Linked DNA regions of Homo sapiens: region 1 is linked to region 2. Evidence: promoter capture Hi-C in 16 types of primary human blood cells and fetal thymus (Javierre and others, 2016). All regions are on one chromosome and are shown on one strand. Each heading gives the region's core, a stretch centred on a gene start or on the middle of the fragment in contact. The rest is flanking DNA. Distances are from core to core; before and after follow the strand shown.

What was found. The method cuts DNA at HindIII sites, captures the fragments that hold promoters and counts their contacts. A CHiCAGO score of 5 or more calls a contact.
Region 1: a fragment that was not itself captured here is called in contact with the fragment with the promoter of YIF1B in region 2 in 1 of 17 cell types (neutrophils); the score reaches 5.6 in neutrophils.

What each region holds. Positions count from the first base shown.
Region 1 is chr19:38,932,171-38,935,335 of GRCh38, forward strand. MRPS12 (mitochondrial ribosomal protein S12) reads left to right here. Exons shown (of 3, transcript NM_033362.4): 3 at 163-998. The coding sequence ends at 530. It overlaps LOC124904713 (a long non-coding RNA gene), which reads right to left. Exons shown (of 2, transcript XR_007067253.1): 2 at 2,653-3,165. Among named protein-coding and RNA genes, the nearest start is that of MRPS12, 2.8 kb to the left of the region's middle. The HindIII fragment of the contact is 303 bases long and covers 1,322-1,624 here.
Region 2 is chr19:38,314,380-38,317,227 of GRCh38, forward strand. It overlaps YIF1B (Yip1 interacting factor homolog B, membrane trafficking protein), which reads right to left and starts at 1,568. Exons shown (of 8, transcript NM_001039672.3): 1 at 1,481-1,568. The coding sequence starts at 1,538. RefSeq lists a silencer at 1,403-1,892. The HindIII fragment of the contact is 4,086 bases long and covers 908-2,848 here.

The DNA.
Region 1 (3,165 bases), core at 223-2,722, 620 kb after region 2:
TTCCTTGAAGAATAAAGAGTTACTTTTGTCTGTAGATAACATTAGATGTGAACAAATGCATCTTTGTAAAGTGCTTTAAACAATGCCTAAAACACCAAAATTGAGTTGCTACTACTCTAAGATCTGTTCTCTGGGATAATAACCCCTTTCGGCCCTCTCCAGGCCCAGCTCTGGTTCCCCGGCTCTGGGCTACCTGCTCCATGGCTACCCTGAACCAGATGCACCGCCTGGGGCCCCCCAAGCGGCCGCCTCGGAAGCTGGGCCCCACGGAAGGCCGGCCGCAGCTGAAGGGTGTGGTCCTGTGCACGTTTACCCGCAAGCCGAAGAAGCCCAACTCAGCCAATCGCAAGTGCTGTCGAGTGCGGCTCAGCACTGGCCGCGAGGCCGTCTGCTTCATCCCTGGGGAGGGCCACACCCTGCAGGAGCACCAGATTGTCCTTGTGGAGGGCGGCCGCACCCAGGACCTGCCAGGCGTCAAGCTCACCGTTGTGCGTGGCAAGTACGACTGTGGCCACGTGCAGAAGAAGTGACGGCTGGGGGCACAGTGGGCTGGGCGCCCCTGCAGAACATGAACCTTCCGCTCCTGGCTGCCACAGGGTCCTCCGATGCTGGCCTTTGCGCCTCTAGAGGCAGCCACTCATGGATTCAAGTCCTGGCTCCGCCTCTTCCATCAGGACCACTATTAAGCCATAGGAGTCCTGGGGGTGCAAAGGGTGCCCCTCTGTCAACACCCTTGGCTCCTGTGTTTAGAGGGGTGGCCTGAAGGACCTTTTCTGCTGGGACAAGACACTGTACTGCCCTCTGCTGGGAAGGGGTTTTAATAAACAGACCCTGGCGCTTGTGATGTAAATCCCCTTGTGGAGTATTTGCCCTCTGTGTGGCTGTGGCAGTGGACATCTCTGAGCTTCAGTTTCCTCCAGAAAATAGCTCCATTGGTGGTATCTCCTTTGTTTGGTTTGGTGAAGATTAAATTCGATGCTCTATGTGCATAACACGCACGGAGGGCTCTTTTTTTTTTTTTTAGACAAAGTCTCACTCTGTTGCCCAGGCTGGAGTGCAGTGGCCTGATCTCAGCTCACTGCAACCTCTGCCCCCCGGGTTCATATGATTCTCCTGCCTCAGCCTCCCGAGTAGCTGGGATTGTAGGCACACACCACCAGGCCTGGCTAATTTTTGTATTTTTAGTAGAGACAGCGTTTCACCATGTTGGCCAGGCTGGTCTCAAACTCCTGAGCTCGGGTGATCTGCCCACCTTGGCCTCCCAAAGTGCTGGGATTACAGGCGTGAGCCACCACGCCTGGCAGAGGGCTACTGTATTTTAAGCTTAGGAGTCAGGTAGGTGGCACAGAGGCCCAGGTCTTCTTCCTGCAGGCCATGGGTTCTGGGCACATAAACTCTGCCCTCAAGCATGGACAGCTGGAAAATGGCAGTAATTGTAATGTTGATGTGGAAGGGGTGTGGAAAGGATTCAATGGGGTGTGCTGCTCCACACCCGGGAGCTGTTCTTTTATTTTATACGTGTGTGTGTGTGTGTGTGTGTGTGTGTGTGTTTGTGTGTGTTTGTGTAGAGAGAGAGACAGAGTCTCACTGTGTTGTCCAGGCTGGAGTGCGGTTCTATGATCAAAGCTTACTTCAGCCTTGACCTCCTGAGCTCAATAGATCCTCCCGCCTCAGCCTCCTGAGTAGTCAGGACCACAGGTGTGTGCCACCACACCTGGCTAACTTTTCCATTTTTTTAGAGTGGGAATCTGGCTTTGTTGTCCAGGCTGGTCTCGAACTCTTGGCCTCAAGAGATCCTTCCACCTTGGCCTCCTAAAATGCTGGATTATAGGTGTGAGCCACTATTATATTATATAATAATATAAAATTATTACTGGGTTCACCTGAGCTCAAATTCTGCTCCCCGTCATAATTGCTATGAGACCTGGCTATGTTGGTTCCCCCTATGGGCCTCGGTTTCCTCCCTTGGAAAATGGCACTGATGATAATGCTGACTGCACCTGATCATGTTTTTGGCCATGTAAGATTTAAGAAGTGGGGCCAGGTGCAGTGGCTCATGCCTGTAATCTCAACACTTTGGGAGGCCGAGGTGGGCCGACCACTTGAGGTCAGGAGTTTGAGACCAGCCTGGCCAACATGGTGAAACCCTGTCTCTACTAAAAATACAAAAATTACCCGGGCATGGTGGCATGTGCCTATAATCTCAGCTACTCAGGAGGCTGAGGCAGGAGACTTGCTTGAACCTGGGAGGTGGAGGTTGCAGTGAGCTGAGATCAGCACCACTGCACTGCAGCCTGGGTGACAGAGTGAGACTCTGTCTCAAAAAAAGAAAAAAGAAAAAACAATGTTGGAACTGTGTTTATATCATTGGGCTCTGGAGCCCAGCACTGCTCCAAGCCCTGCCTCCCCTACTTACTGGCTGGGTGACCTTGGGCAGGTTGTTTACACTCTGAGCCTGGACCAAATGGCGCTGATAAGGGTGCATGCTTGAGAGCTGTTTGGAGCATCATAGCTGTCTCCGAGTTCCTCTTGACGCTCAACACACAGCCTCCTGAGGGTCTCCTGATTGTAAACATGAGGCCACAAGGTCTTTTAGGATCAGAGCTGGTGGCAGATAAGTGCACTGATTACAGATAAAAATTGCCCATCCCCTCATATTTGGCACCAGTTTTATTGAGCTAGTTTGTTGGCCATGCCTAGCTGAGAAATAGAGAAGTGGAGGGAGATGGGGGGATGGGAGAGCTTTTCCTCATGGCACACTCTGCTCCAGGAGTCTGTATACAGGAGTGTGGAGAAAAGGAAGTGTTACCTTGCAGGAAGTTGCCCCCAAAGCAAGGGCAGGAGGTGGGGGTGGGGGACTTGGCCTCTGATGGAATTCTGGAATTCTGATGAGAGAGGTGCTAGCCTGACCTGAACAGGAGATGCTGACAGGCAGTGCTGGGCATGTTGCACAGAGATGGCTGGTTACACAGCCCCGTGGCAGGATCCCAGAGTGCCGAGACCAGCTGGGTCGTGGAGACCCTAACCCAGTGGCGCTAGAGGAATTAAAGACACACACCCAGAAATACAGGGTGTGGAGTGGGAAATCAGGGGTCTCACAGCCTTCAGAGCTGAGAGCCTCGAACAGAGATTTACACACATATTTATTGACAGCAAGCCAGTGAT
Region 2 (2,848 bases), core at 318-2,817:
AGATGGGGTCTCACCATGTTGGCCAGGCTGGTCTCGAACTCCTGACCTCGTGATCCTCCCACCTCGGCCTCCCAAAATCCTGGGATTATAGGTGTGAACCACTGCGCCCAACCTAATTTTTTTGCATTTTTAGTAGAGATGGGGTTTCATCATGTTGGCCAGGCTGGTTGGCTGGGCACCGTGACTCATGCCTGTGATCCCAGCACTTTGGGAGGCCAAGGCAGGTGGATCACCCTCTTTTTTTTTTTTTTTTTTTTTTTTTGAGGCGAAGTCTTGCTCTGTCGCCCAGGCTGGTGCAATCTCGCCTCAGTGCAACCTCTGCCTCCTGGGTTCAAGTGATTCTCAAGCCTCAGACTCCCAAGTAGCCGGGATTACAGGTGCTCGCCACCACACCCGGCTAATTTTGTGTACTTTTATTAGAGATAGGATTTTGCTGTTACCCAAGCTGGTCTCCAACTCCTGGCCCCAAGTGATTCGCCCACCTCGACCTCCCAAAGTGCTGAGATTATAGGTGTAGGCCAGCACGCCCAGCCTGCCCTCTCACTACAAATCTCCTTCTCCTGGGTAACTTTTCATGATCAGAATTATCCTCTTCCATGCCGGGTGCGGTGGCTCACGCCTGTAATCCCAGCACTTTGGGAGGCCTAGGCGGGCGGATCACCTGAGGTCGGGAGTTTGAGACCAGCTTGACCAACATGGAGAAACCCCGTCTATACCACCCCGGGCGTGGTGGCCTGCGCCTGTAATCCCAGCTACTTGGGAGGCTGAGGCAGGAGAATCGCTTGAACCCGGGAGGCGGAGGTTGCGGTGACCTGAGATCGCGCCATTGCACTCCAGCCTTGGCAACAAGAACAAAACTAGGTCTCAAAAAAAAAAAAAAAAGAAAAAGAAGTATCCTCTTCCAGGAAGCTTCACTGACACCCCTAGGCTGGGTCATGTGCCTCCTCAGGGCTCCCACAACATCTCCATCCCAACACAGGGCCTGACACATGGGAGTTGAGACAAGTTAGGTTGAATGAATAAATGAAACACACAGCACACTCACGGAGATGAAGAGACAGGAAAAGGGGGCCAACAGCACAATACAGGTTCGCTTCTTAAATGAGCGGTAGGCATGGCCCTCTGCGCTCCCGGGGGGCCACGAAGCTGTCCTAAGGGTGTGGGCGACAGCAGGCGGGTACTGGGGAGCCACGGAAGGGTGGGGAGCAGGGAAGGGCGGATCGCTAACTGCAAATGAATGAAAGTTGCATTTCTCTGCATATCGCACGCTATCCAGTCCCAAGTTGTTTTCTTCTAAAGGAATTTCCTAAAGAATCGCCCCCCAAGGGGCCTCCTACCCGAACCTGGCATCCCAGCGCTGTGCACACCTCAGGGTTCCAGATCCTTGATCTCGTGACCTCTGACCTGCAGTGACCTCGCCAACCGACGCGGCCGCCCCGCCACGCCCCCGCCCGCCCGATCTCCTCCGCCGGCCACGTACGCCACTTACGCAGCCGGGGCGTCCCCGCAGCCGCCGCCGCCAAGCCTGCCGGGTGCATCCTTCGCCGCCGCCACCTAAGCCGCGGTTCGGAGCGTGCCCGCCCGGCTCCCGTACCCACGCCCCGCCGGCGAAGAGACAGCCAATGGACGTCAGGATTGAGGGAAGGCCTCGCCCCCACCCCCCCGACCCCTCCAGCCCCCCCCTTCACGGAGGCCTGGACGACTGGGCGGTGCCTTACGTAAGAGGCGGAGACTGGGCTACTGGGCTCATGCAGTAAAGCGAGTCAAGGCCTGAGTGGCAGGAGGGCGAGGCCGGGACCAATCCCAGGAGGAGGCGGTGTCTGCCACGACAGAAAATGAGTGTCTGCCCCTTGCCGGGGCTCACGCCCCTAACTCCAGCACTTTGGGAGGCCGAGGCGGGAGGATTGCTTCAGCCCAGGGATTCGAGACTAGCCTGAGCAACATAGTGACCCTCGCCCCGCCCCATCCCTACAATTTTTTTTTTTTTTAATTTAGCCAGGCTCAGTGGCTTAACGCCTGTAATCTCAGCACTTTGGAAGGCTGAGGATCGCTTGAGCCCAGGAGTTCGAGACCAGCCTGGGCAACAGCGAGATCTCCATCGCTACAAAACATTTTTTAAAATGTAAATATCGAGCGAAAAGGTCGATGGGAAATGCAGTTCTCTGCAGACAGCCGTTCAGTTTGGGTCATTGAGAGCACTGGAGAGCCAGAAAAGGCTGTGGAGCAAGGAAAAGAGAAACATTTGTGTTCCTGAGGGGCTAATTGGAGTTGTAGGGGCTTATACAATTTTTGACATCCCTTAGGTATTAAAGTAAATATTTATTTATTTTGAGACAGGGTCTTCCTCTGTTTTCCAGGCTGCCTCGGACCCCCTGAGCTCAAGTGATCCTCCTGCCTCAGCCTCCCCAGTAACTGGCACCACAGGCATGCACCACCATGCCCAGCTAATTTTTAAATTTTTTGTCAAAACAGGATCTTGCTATGTTGCCCAGGCTGGTCTCGAATTCCTGGGCTCAAGCCATCCTCCTGCTTCAGCCTCCTAAAGCATTAGGATTACAGACATGAGCCACAGTGCCCGGCCTTAAAGTGAATATTTAGAGTGAGAAAAGGAAACCCAACAAGTTAGGTGAGAAGAACCAGGTGTCTCTCTTGGAATAGATCTTAAGGCAGTTTCCCAGAAATTCATAAAAATGTTCTCACATTGCAACCTGGTTCCCTCTGTCCACCAAAAGCATTCTACAACCCCCAGCAACTCACAGCACACAGGCGCACCTGCAAGTGAAGAGCCCTGCCCACCTAGCGTCCTTAGTCTCTCCTCTCTCTGACTCTCAGTCTCCCCCCTTCTCTC